Linked DNA regions of Homo sapiens: regions 2, 3 and 4 are each linked to region 1. The links are contacts of gene promoters, found by promoter capture Hi-C in human tissues and cell types (Jung and others, 2019). All regions are on one chromosome and are shown on one strand. Each heading gives the region's core, a stretch centred on a gene start or on the middle of the fragment in contact. The rest is flanking DNA. Distances are from core to core; before and after follow the strand shown. Region 1 holds the start of KRTAP5-5 (keratin associated protein 5-5). Region 2 overlaps MUC5B (mucin 5B, oligomeric mucus/gel-forming). Region 3 holds the start of TOLLIP (toll interacting protein). Region 4 overlaps LINC01150 (long intergenic non-protein coding RNA 1150).

Region 1 (2,760 bases), core at 181-2,680:
AGGCGCTGGATGCAAATGTATCAGGCACTGGATGCGAATGTATCAGGCGCTGGATGCGAATGTATCAGGCGCTGGATGCGAATGTATCAGGCGCTGGATGCGAACGTATCAGGCGCTGGATGCGAATGTATCAGGCGCTGGATGCGAATGTATCAGGAAGCAAATGTATCTGTTGCCTCTGTTCCAGAGCTGGAGGATGCCGCCTCTGGTGGGGACAGCCAACACAAGGCGGCTCTCTCCTAATGGGTTTTCTGTTCCTCCCTGAGATACAGTCCCCTGCCCCAGAACAGAGTGGGGCTCCAGCATACACGGCAAGAGTCACCGAGTGCCAGCTGGTGTTTACACCGTGGCCTGAGGCCTGTTGACTGGGCTCGGGGCACTCACAGGTATTGTGGTCACGGGGGCAAATGGCCATCCGGTTCCCTGCTCTCCACCGGCTTTCTTTAGCATCCAGTGGGCCTGCACCCGAATGTAGTTGCTGCTTCCCAGGCTGAGCCCGGGACCCGGAGCAGGCGGGCACCCAGACAGGGCATCCTCTTCCGCTCACTGGCCCTGAAAGGGCCTCTGCCATCAGCCTGTGCCGCTGTCCGGGAGCCCCTGGGCCGGCCACGCAGTGGGGGAACCCGCTTCACAGCGACACCGTGCGGCGGCAGGAGGAACCGCTGCAGGAGACAATGCGATCTGGGTCCTGACCCAGCGCAGAGGCAGTGTCTGCCCCTTGCAATGCTTGGATTTCCTTCCTCAAAAGGCAGCCTTCGATGATCTGAAATTCAAGTTCCAGCAGGCATCCTGTACTGTATCTGTCAGCCCTGCCACCCGAGTGGTCTGAAAGCCCTGGAAGAGACCGCGGTTATCACAGGAGAACACTTTCCATGGGGAGCACGCAGCAAGCTCCAGAATAAGCGCTTAAAATCCCCGTCTCAGTCAACACTGCAAACCTTCCAACAAAGTCTTACACCGAAAACGACCCTGCTGAGCTGAGGGCTGAAGCCCCAGGTCCTGGGACCCTTGGAAACAGCCCGCGGGCCAGGAGCTGCTGTGGACCGTGAAGGTGTAGGGCCTAGGCACGTCCCAAGCAAGACACGATGCTCCCGCAGAGGAATCTTCCCGGGAGCAAGCCAGGAGTCCTGGGCTCAAAATCACCCTCGGCAAGACCAAGGCCTCTGAGCGAGCCACTGCCTGCCCATCGCTTCCTTCTTGTCACATGGAAAGGGAAACTCACCGCGGGGCCAGTGTTTACTGAGGGGCCGCTTCCATCACAGACCTGACAGCACATTCGAGAAAAGTGCGAGGAAAACAGGAGTTATTTATAAAAATGTAAAGCAGAAGAGAATACTGGGACCAGTGGCACAAGCAGGAACCAGGAAGTGACAGTGTGCCCAGCCTCTCACCTGACCCTGGACAGGGATATAAAGAGCCCGGGCTCAGGGGGCTCCACACCTGCACCTCCCTCTCACCTGCTCCTCTACCTGCTCCACCCTCAATCCACCAGAACCATGGGCTGCTGTGGCTGCTCCGGAGGCTGTGGCTCCGGCTGTGGAGGCCGTGGCTCCGGCTGTGGGGGCTGTGGCTCCGGCTGTGGAGGCTGTGGCTCTGGCTGTGGGGGCTGTGGCTCCGGCTGTGGAGGCTGTGGGGGCTGTGGCTCCGGCTGTGCGGGCTGTGGGGGATGTGGCTCCGGCTGCTGTGTGCCTGTCTGCTGCTGCAAGCCCATGTGCTGCTGTGTGCCAGCTTGTTCCTGCTCCAGCTGTGGCAAAGGGGGCTGTGGCTCTTGCGGGGGCTCCAAGAGAGGCTGTGTCTCCTGTGGGGTGTCCAAGGGGGCCTGTGGCTCCTGTGGGGGGTCCAAGGGGGGCTGTGGCTCCTGTGGGGGGTCCAAGGGGGGCTGTGGCTCCTGTGGGGGGTCCAAGGGGGGCTGTGGCTCCTGTGGGGGGTCCAAGGGGGGCTGTGGTTCTTATGGCTGCTCCCAGTCCAGCTGCTGCAAGCCCTGCTGCTGCTCCTCAGGCTGTGGGTCATCCTGCTGCCAGTCCAGCTGCTGTAAGCCTTACTGCTGCCAGTCCAGCTGCTGTAAGCCCTACTGCTGCCAGTCCAGCTGCTGTAAGCCCTGTAGCTGCTTCTCAGGCTGTGGATCATCCTGCTGCCAATCCAGCTGCTACAAGCCCTGCTGCTGCCAGTCCAGCTGCTGTGTCCCCGTGTGCTGCCAGTGTAAGATCTGAGGCTCTGACTGCAGACTGCAGGTGGCCTGACTGGTGAAGGGCCCGGCTGCCCAGCTTCCTTGCCCTGGGTTCTCTGGTGCTCCACTGTCTCCACTGTGTCCTCACTGGCTTCATCCACTCCACACCAGTGCTCCCGAAACTGACTGAGGACCCCTTCTGGCTCATTGCCTACTACTTCTCCTGAACTTCCTCTCCCTGCTCCTCACTCATTTAAGATCCAAAGCGGCCCACTGAGGCCCCAGAGGCAGATCAGACCCCTTAGACCCTGACAGCTGCTCCTTCTTTCAGGAGTGTGATCGACCCTCAATCTCTCTGGCTGTCTGTATATCAAGACTGAATCCTGACCCTCTAAATAAACAAAGTCTCTAAGCACAAAGCTCACTGTCTTGTGGTTCTCTCCTTCCCACCTCTCTCTCATTCCCAGAAGCACCATCTTCTTGCCTCCACCCCTGGGCCTGTTCCCATTTCTCTCCCCTCAGCATCTTTCATGTCATGGTCCATGTCTTCATGCACAGAACTAACGTCTATAGCTTTCTGCTCTGGGCCCCTT
Region 2 (2,760 bases), core at 147-2,646, 400 kb before region 1:
TCATTTGAGAGTCGGGAATGGGTTCCTCCCCAGAGCTGACCTCCCGCCCGCCTCCTTCCGCAGGCCATCCGGGTCCAAGCGGACGGCGGCGTGTTCCTCAACTCCATCTACACGCAGCTGCCCCTGTCGGCAGGTATGTGGCTCTCCCAGGACGGCCGGGCTGGGTGGCGCCTGCTTGCAGGGGCAGCTCCCACAGCCTGGGCAGCGTCCGCTCCATCCCTGCTAGTTCTCCGTGGCCTCGGGCAGCTCCAGGAGCTCCCTGTGCTCGGTTTCTCGTCTGCAGAGTGGGGATGCCAGGCTCCCACCCCGGCAGCGGCAGGGACCCCACATCCAGCTCGCTCAGCCCCACTCTCTCAGGGAGCCCGGTCTCCACCTGAGCCCACTTGGCGGCCACAGGCATGGGACAGGGAGCCTGAGGGCTCCTGGCCACTCCTGGGTCTCACTCCCGGGTCTCAGTGGGGTGGCCCGGCCCACTGGATGCCCTGCCCCTCCAATCTAGCCAGATCTGTCCCTGCACCCCTGACCGGCCTCTCCCCCACACTCCCGGCAGCCAACATCACCCTGTTCACACCCTCGAGCTTCTTCATCGTGGTGCAGACAGGCCTGGGGCTGCAGCTGCTGGTGCAGCTGGTGCCACTCATGCAGGTGTTTGTCAGGCTGGACCCCGCCCACCAGGGCCAGATGTGCGGTGAGGCTGGGCAGGGGCCTTCGGGGACAGGGCCATTGGGGACGGGGCCTGGACTAGCGCCAGGCTGCAGGGAGGGGCAGGCAGAGGCGGGCAGGGGACCGGGGAGGGGGCTGCCCCCAGGGCATGGCGGAGATCCTGGTGCCAGCGCAGGACACCAGCATTGGACCAGCGGCCCCGGAAGCAGCCAGCTGGGAGGATGGAGCGGGCAGCCCTGCCCTGGCTCAGGCCGACTTTGCACAGGGGCTGGCTTTGCACAGGGGCCGACTGCACAGGGGCGCCCCCCGCCAGGGCTTATCTGCAGAGGGTTCTGGGAGCAGAATCCTGGGACAGGGCTCCCAGCCGTTCCACCCTGTGTGGTGCCTGGAGGGATGGCAGGGGCCAGGAGCCAGGTGGGCCCAACAGTGGCCGCTGACATCCCCCAACCCTGGCCCCCAGGCCTGTGTGGGAACTTCAACCAGAACCAGGCTGACGACTTCACGGCCCTCAGCGGGGTGGTGGAGGCCACGGGCGCAGCCTTCGCCAACACCTGGAAGGCCCAGGCTGCCTGTGCCAATGCCAGGAACAGCTTTGAGGACCCCTGCTCCCTCAGTGTGGAGAATGGTACTCCTCGCCCCCACCCCCACAGTCACCCCAGGCTCAAGTCCCACCCAGCACCTTCCTGTCCCCTGGGCCACGGGGACCCCTGGGTGGGATTGGGGACCCCATGGAGGCAGGTGGGAGGCATCAGGAGGAGGTGCTTGGGGCCAGGCGGCCAGAACCCCCCAAGGCGCAGCAGGTGAGCCGCAAATTCCAACTCACTGTTCCCCGGGCTGAGGGGGTCGCAGGCCTGCGTGTCAGGGGTGTGGGCTTCGGGGCAGGGCGTGGAGATGAGGTCAGGTCTTCCCCACAGAGAACTACGCCCGGCACTGGTGCTCGCGCCTGACCGATCCCAACAGTGCCTTCTCGCGCTGCCACTCCATCATCAACCCCAAGCCCTTCCACTCGGTGAGAGGCTGAGGCCAGACCCCCACGCCTGGGCAGGATGGGTGGGGGAGCCCTGGCAGGCTGGGGTCCCTGACGCCCCGATGCCTCCCACCTCCGCAGAACTGCATGTTTGACACCTGCAACTGTGAGCGGAGCGAGGACTGCCTGTGCGCCGCGCTGTCCTCCTATGTGCACGCCTGTGCCGCCAAGGGCGTACAGCTCAGCGACTGGAGGGACGGCGTCTGCAGTGAGTGCCCACGCTGGGGGTGGGATGTGTCCACACCGCGTGGGGGTGCGGGGGACCCTGGCCGGCAGCAGCCGTCACTCACACGGTTCTCAGCCCAGAGCTTTGCACTTCCTCATCCCAGCCTCGCAAGAACCTCATGCCCTTGCGATCCCCACGTCACAGACGGGGATGCTGAGTTGAAGATGGGGGCTGGCCAGGCTGCTCGGCCGCTGACCTGTCCCCCCTGGCCCCACCGACCACAGCCAAGTACATGCAGAACTGCCCCAAGTCCCAGCGCTACGCCTACGTGGTGGATGCCTGCCAGCCCACTTGCCGCGGCCTGAGTGAGGCCGACGTCACCTGCAGCGTTTCCTTCGTGCCTGTGGACGGCTGCACCTGCCCCGCGGGCACCTTCCTCAATGACGCGGGCGCCTGTGTGCCCGCCCAGGAGTGCCCCTGCTACGCTCACGGCACCGTGCTGGCTCCTGGAGAGGTGGTGCACGACGAGGGCGCCGTGTGGTAAGGGTCTGGGGGGAAAGCAGGCCCCCCAGGTGCTCCTCAGAGCCACTTCCCGCCCTCCCCGAAGGCTTCTGTGCCTCCCCCCGAGGGTTCTGAGACATGAGGGGCCAGGCTGGGGAGAGTGGGGCAGGGTGGACCCAGCACATTCTGAAGAGAAAATTCCCAGCTGGGAAAGAGGCCAGGAGAGGAGGTGGCCCTGGGAGGACACCTGCTGGCTGTTCTCAGCTGGGTCCACATGGCAGCCCCTGCCAGGAAAGGTGGGTGGCCCCCACTCCCACCCTGGGCTCAAAGGCCGCTCCTAACCCCAGGGTCCTGGCTGCTTTGCTGCCCCCCTGTGTGTATTTACCCATGTGCCTCCAGGGGA
Region 3 (2,760 bases), core at 137-2,636, 320 kb before region 1:
TGGCTTGGTGCTGTCCCGGTGATAGTGAGTTCTCACAAGATCTGGTCATTACAGTGTGTGGCACCTCCCCACCCCCAACTCTCTTGCTGCTTTCGCCATGTGACGTGTAAGCTCCCACTTGGCCTTCCGCCATGACTGGGAGCTTCCAGAGGCCTCCCCAGGAGCAGATGCCGGCACCATGCTACCTGTACAGCCTGCAGAACCGGGAGCCAATTAAATCTCTTTTCTTACAAATTACCCAGTCTCGGTATTCCTTTACAGCAATGCAAGAAGGCCCTAACAGTGAGCCAGGAGGCCACTCACGCCAGGAGCCCATCATCTCTGAGTCAGTCTACACCAGCTCTCCTGCAATATTAATGCTATAGAAGAAACTGCCAGGCAACTCTCAGGAGAGAATTCAGAGCAGGAAAGGTTCTCTGAAGTTCCTGGCGCCTATCCTCTCATTTGCAAATGAAGAAACTGAGGTTTTGCACGGTGGCCACTAACCGGGGACACAATTGGGCCCAAGAAGTGGTCACCACTGCCCTCACTCTGTGTAAATGAGAAAGAGGAAACAGCCATCATCTATGGGACCAACTAGAGTGCAGGCCCGCCTCCACCTGGGGGGCCATCAGGGTGCGGGACCCGCCTCCACCTGGGGGGGCCATCAGGGTGCGGGGCCCGCCTCCATCTAGGGTGCCATCAGGGTGCGGGACCCGCCTCCACCTGGGGGGCCATCAGGGAGCAGGGCCCGCATCCATCTAGGGGACCATTAGGGTTCAGGGCCCGCCTCCACCTGGGGGACCATTAGGGTGCGGGGCCCTCCTCCATTCGGGAGTCAGAGCTCGGGGCCGCCTCCATCTGGGCACCGGGCCCTCCTCCATCTGGAGACCATTGGGGAGCGGGGCCTGCCTCCCTCTGGGGCACCATGGGGCACGGGGCCCGCCTCCATCTGGGGCTCACAACGGGCGCAGGCCCCCTCCCCCGGGGCTGCCTCCCCAAAGCTCTGCCCCGGCACGGCGGTGAGCTCAAGCCTCCTGCAGCGTGGGCGCGTCCGTCCGGCCCGCCCCGCCCCGAGGTGTGGACGCCGCCGCTCCCCTCCGGCCGGCCAGGCGCCCCGCGTGCCCCGGGAGAGCCGCGGAGTCGGCCCGCCAGCCGCAGCTGAGCAGTAGCCCTGACCCAAGGCCCCGCCCGCAACCGCAGGTCACCGCCCCCGCCCGACCCTCGCCCGGCTGCCTCACCGGCCCGCGCTGAGTGCTGACGGTGGTCGCCATGGTGCTGCGGCGGCCCCCGTGGCTCGCCGACCCGACAGTGACGCGCCGGGCGACCTCCTGCGCCCCCGCCGGAGCCTGCGACGGAGACAGTTGTCACCTCGAGGCCGCCGCCGCCACAGTCAGCTGACAGCCGCCGCGCCCCGCCCCCGGCACCGCCCCACTGCGCAGGCGCCGCGCCAGGCACCGCCCCTTCCGGCTCTCGCGCGCACGCGCGCTCCAGGGTAGGGCAGGCGCAGCCTCTCGCCCGGCGCCTGCGCACCTGCTCTCTCCTCGAGCCCTGCAGCCCGGCGAAATGGCTCCCGGCGGGGCCGTTTGCGCATGCCCAGTCATGACGGTTGTCGGCGCGGGCCCTAGCGTGGCGGCGCTGCAGTCTGGGCAGTGGGTTGGTTCCTCCTCGGTCCTCTGTCGAGTGGCGACAGGGCCTAGCCACCTGGCGGGGGTGACCTTCGGACGTGCGACCCGCTCGGAGAAGGGAGGGAACTGTGGCCCGCAACAAAGCAGTGACAGGCCCGACATCCCCTGCAGGGCGATCTTTCCCTCAGCTGCCTGCCGGAGGAAGGGCCTTTCTGTTTCACAGGGCTAAAGATGGGGCGCGGTTCCTCCACGGGGCGGCTGCCGGGTGAACGGAACGGGGATGGAGGCGCTGCCAGAAGAGCCCGAGCTCGAGCCCGCCCTGCCCTCGGCCTCCCCGCCGCGCCGCTCCGCAGGAGCCCCGCTCCTCTCCTGCTCGCTCCGGAGAACCCCAGTCCGGCCTGACCTCGGCCCTCGCGGTCAGGCGCTCCAACCAGAGCGACTCCAGCTCGAACAGCGCTGGGTAAACTGAGGCTGAACCCCGCTGGCTGCATCCCCAGGAGTCGGGCGTTTACGGTCACGGGAACAGGTTAATAAACTTTTACGCAGCAGACCCGGAACTTAGGTCCCGATGTCCGGGTATCTTAAGAACAAGAAGCATTCTTAGTTGAAGTTTCGCTTTAAAGATAATGATACAGATGCTTGCGGAGGACAGGCGTTATGCAAAGATTGGCAATCCTTTGACGAGCCCAGGTAGTACAGCACGTCTCCCCCGTGATGTTTTTTGGCTTTTATCTTACATATAAACAAGCGTACCCAGGTGGACGCCTTCCTCCTCGTGCTTTTGGGAACACCCTGCTCTATGGAGTAGCCATTCTTTTATTCCTTCACTGCCTTAATAAACTTGCTTTCACTTTACTCTGTGGACTGGCCTGGAATTCTTTCTTCCACAAGATCCACGAATCCTCTTTTGGGGTCTGGATCAGGACCCTTTTCCGGTAACACAACCACTCCACTAAAAACTCTTTGTCAGTGATCTCTATATTGTTAGTGGTCAGTTCTCAGTCCTCGTCCTCCGGGAACTACAGCAAAATCGATAGTCATTCTTGCTACACATGCTTTCTTCACTCCCCATCCAGGACACCATGTGCTCTCACTTTCCTCTTATCCCAAAGACCACATCTTTGGGTCTCGGTTACCAGTCTCTCCTTTTAAA
Region 4 (2,760 bases), core at 98-2,597, 270 kb after region 1:
TGGGTTCTAGATTGTGAAGCGTTTGATAGGGTCCTCAGTGGACCATGAAAAGCTTTCTGTACCTGGTGAAAATATACTTAGGCATAATGCATTAAGGCCTAGGAGCCTTTAGCCATATCGGAGTTGAGGAGTGGAAGATACATGAGGTTCTATATAGGACTTCCAGGGACTATTTCATAAGGCACCAACTTATGTTTTCCACTGGAAATGGACCCGACGGCCATCCACCTGCAACACCCTTGACCAAGGCAGCCCAGTTCATTCATTTCCCTTGCTTAATATTATTGTATCTGTAACAAGTTATTAACAGTTTTACCACTTGAGCAGTGAAACAAGTACATCTATCATGGGAGATTTCTCAAGGGACGTCCCATGAGAAAAACAATTTTCTAATAATCTTTTAGCTACTGCTATAACATCAGTGCTCTTGCCTGGGAAAGCTTCTATATAACCAGAAAACACGCATTGAAAATGACAATTGAAGGAAATCCCTCCAGCAATGTTTCAATGGCCCATCAAGTAGCAGAAGTGTAATGGAAGTTTCGATTGTCCTCCCAGGATTATGGGTTTGGCAGACCAAACATTGGTCGTAAACCATTTTAACAACTTACAACGGTCACCATGTCAAATATATATATGTATATTATATATACATATATATATAAAATTTGGATTAATTTGTCTCTTCCATGATGAATCATGGAGTGCAGAGCATTTAATAGTGGAAGCTTCAAGGACACAGGAAGGACCAGGTGGCCATCTTGGCTGTCCATGTGTCCATGCTTGATGCTGGACTTATATCTTCTTAAATACCAATTTTGTTTCTCCAGTTCAGGTGCATAGCACTGTTTATTAGAAGGGTTATCATAGGTAATTTGACTTGGACGATGGATTTAATTCAAATTGGGTATCTAAACAATATCAGTACTGGCTGATTTAGCATGAAAAGCTGGCAAAGTGTTTTCTTGGTATTCAATTAATTTTTGTCCTGCCCAGGTTAGCAATTTTATAAACCAGTCAATCTTTCCATTAGAGTTCCGGGAATTTTTACCCAGTCCAAATGACATTACACTAAAGTTATCAGAAGCCTATTCAAGAGGGCTTATCAGGGTCCTTTCTCTCCTTTCACGAACCTCCTGGAGGACTCAATATTGTAGGACTGTGTGTGTTTGTGAGTTTTCAGAAACGTCAGAAAAAAGCAATTAACTCTGGAAATGACGTAAAATGGTCATGGTTAAAGAAGAACTGACAAGGAATTTTGATTACTTCTGTGGCCTACAATAACTTAACTGTAATTAAGAGTGACAGCATATACCCGGATGTATCAGAATTTTAGGAACCCCATACAATTTTGGAGCATATATTAATGACGTATTCACAAACAATATCTCAAATAAGGTTAAACATCATTTCTTATTTGGCAGTGCTTCCCATGTAATTTAATTTATCAAATACTTCTGTCTCTCTCTTTTTTGGATACTATAGGGGCCCTTAGTAGCTCTCTCCACTGGGAAAGGCTGTTATCGTCTTTGTTTTAAACTATAAACTAAGTTTCTCCCAAAGTTAGTTCAGCCTACTCCCAGGAATAAGCAAGGACAGGAATAAGCAAGGAGGTTAGAAGCAAGATGGAAGGGCCAGGCACGGTGGCTTACGCCTGTAACCCCATCACTTTGGGAGGCCGAGGTGAGCAGATCACAAGGTCAGGAGTTCCAGACCAGCCTGGCCAATATGGTGAAACCTCATCTCTACTAAAAAAAATACAAAATTAGTCGGGCGTTGTGGCAGATGCCTGTAATCCCAGTTACTTGGGAGGCTGAGGCAGGAGAATCGCTTGAACCCAGGAGGCAGAGGTTGTGGTGAGCCAAGTTTACGCCATTGCACTCCAGCCTGGGCGACAAGAGCAAAACACCACCTCTAAAAAAAAAAAAAGGCAAGATGGAGTCAATTAAGTTAGATGTCTCTCACCGTCTCAGTCAAAGAGACAATGCAAAGGTGGTTTCAGCTTTTTCCTAAATATTATCAGATACATGTCATACAGAGAGACATATAGTCATAACAGACACAGATAGAAACAGATCTTACAGATTTCAGAAAGAATTTTCATTTGCCAGCTTTCAAATAGTTTTCTTTTCCCCCTTTAGACTATCAATCTTCTAATTACTTGTTTTATCATCCTAAGCAATCGTTAGCTAGGGAACAATTTGCCTTCAAAAAAGATAACTCTTAGGTGAAACAAGGCAGAAAATGTATATATGAAAAGCTATTTAAGCTGAGACTTTCAGCTTAAATACTGTACCATCATCATTTGCTCAACCAAGAAAAAAGCAAGGCCCAGTGAAGACAACATGGCCAGGAAAAACACGTTAAACAAAGGTAAGACTTGTTACGTAAATTTAAAACAAAGGGATGTCCCTCCCAGACGTTGCAAATGGAAATGTCTTGTGGAGATGTAAATTTCTTTCACAAAATGGTTTCAAGGTAGCCGTTGAATGTCAGAAAGGTGCATTTTAGTTATTAGGCTGGTTGAAAAGTAATTGCAAAAACCACAATTATGGCCGGGCGCGGTGGCTCACGCCTGTAATCCCAGCACTTTGGGAGGCCGAGGCGGGTGGATCATGAGGTCAGGAGATCGAGACCATCCTGGCTAACATGGTGAGATCCCGTCTCTACTAAAAATACAAAAAGTTAGCCGGGCGTGGTGGCGGGCGCCTGTAGTCCCAGCTACTCGGGAGGCTGAGGCAGGAGAATGGTCTGAACCCG

The links. Contacts are between HindIII fragments. The study calls those that stand out against the background at their distance.
Region 2: a contact is called between a fragment that was not itself captured here and the fragment with the promoter of KRTAP5-5 in region 1, in 1 of the 25 tissues and cell types used here (spleen).
Region 3: the fragment with the promoter of TOLLIP here is called in contact with the fragment with the promoter of KRTAP5-5 in region 1 in 2 of the 25 tissues and cell types used here (lymphoblastoid cells and mesenchymal stem cells).
Region 4: a fragment that was not itself captured here is called in contact with the fragment with the promoter of KRTAP5-5 in region 1 in 7 of the 25 tissues and cell types used here (adrenal gland, bladder, dorsolateral prefrontal cortex and 4 more).

What each region holds. Positions count from the first base shown.
Region 1 is chr11:1,628,345-1,631,104 of GRCh38, forward strand. KRTAP5-5 (keratin associated protein 5-5) reads left to right here and starts at 1,431. Exons shown (of 1, transcript NM_001001480.3): 1 at 1,431-2,586. The coding sequence starts at 1,497. The coding sequence ends at 2,210. The HindIII fragment of the contact is 7,029 bases long and covers 1-2,760 here.
Region 2 is chr11:1,230,873-1,233,632 of GRCh38, forward strand. It overlaps MUC5B (mucin 5B, oligomeric mucus/gel-forming), which reads left to right. Exons shown (of 49, transcript NM_002458.3): 13 at 64-133; 14 at 551-688; 15 at 1,124-1,288; 16 at 1,578-1,672; 17 at 1,772-1,898; 18 at 2,141-2,396. Among named protein-coding and RNA genes, the nearest start is that of MUC5B, 9.2 kb to the left of the region's middle. The HindIII fragment of the contact is 5,029 bases long and covers 1-2,760 here.
Region 3 is chr11:1,308,246-1,311,005 of GRCh38, forward strand. TOLLIP (toll interacting protein) reads right to left here and starts at 1,387. Exons shown (of 6, transcript NM_019009.4): 1 at 1,221-1,387. The coding sequence starts at 1,253. It overlaps TOLLIP-DT (TOLLIP divergent transcript), which reads left to right and starts at 1,463. Exons shown (of 1, transcript NR_029409.1): 1 at 1,463-2,462. RefSeq lists a silencer at 843-1,552 and an enhancer at 1,783-2,544. The HindIII fragment of the contact is 18,535 bases long and covers 1-2,760 here.
Region 4 is chr11:1,899,398-1,902,157 of GRCh38, forward strand. The region is part of intron 1 of LINC01150 (long intergenic non-protein coding RNA 1150); the gene reads left to right. It also overlaps a transcript of PRR33 not described here. Among named protein-coding and RNA genes, the nearest start is that of LINC01150, 4.0 kb to the left of the region's middle. The HindIII fragment of the contact is 4,546 bases long and covers 1-2,760 here.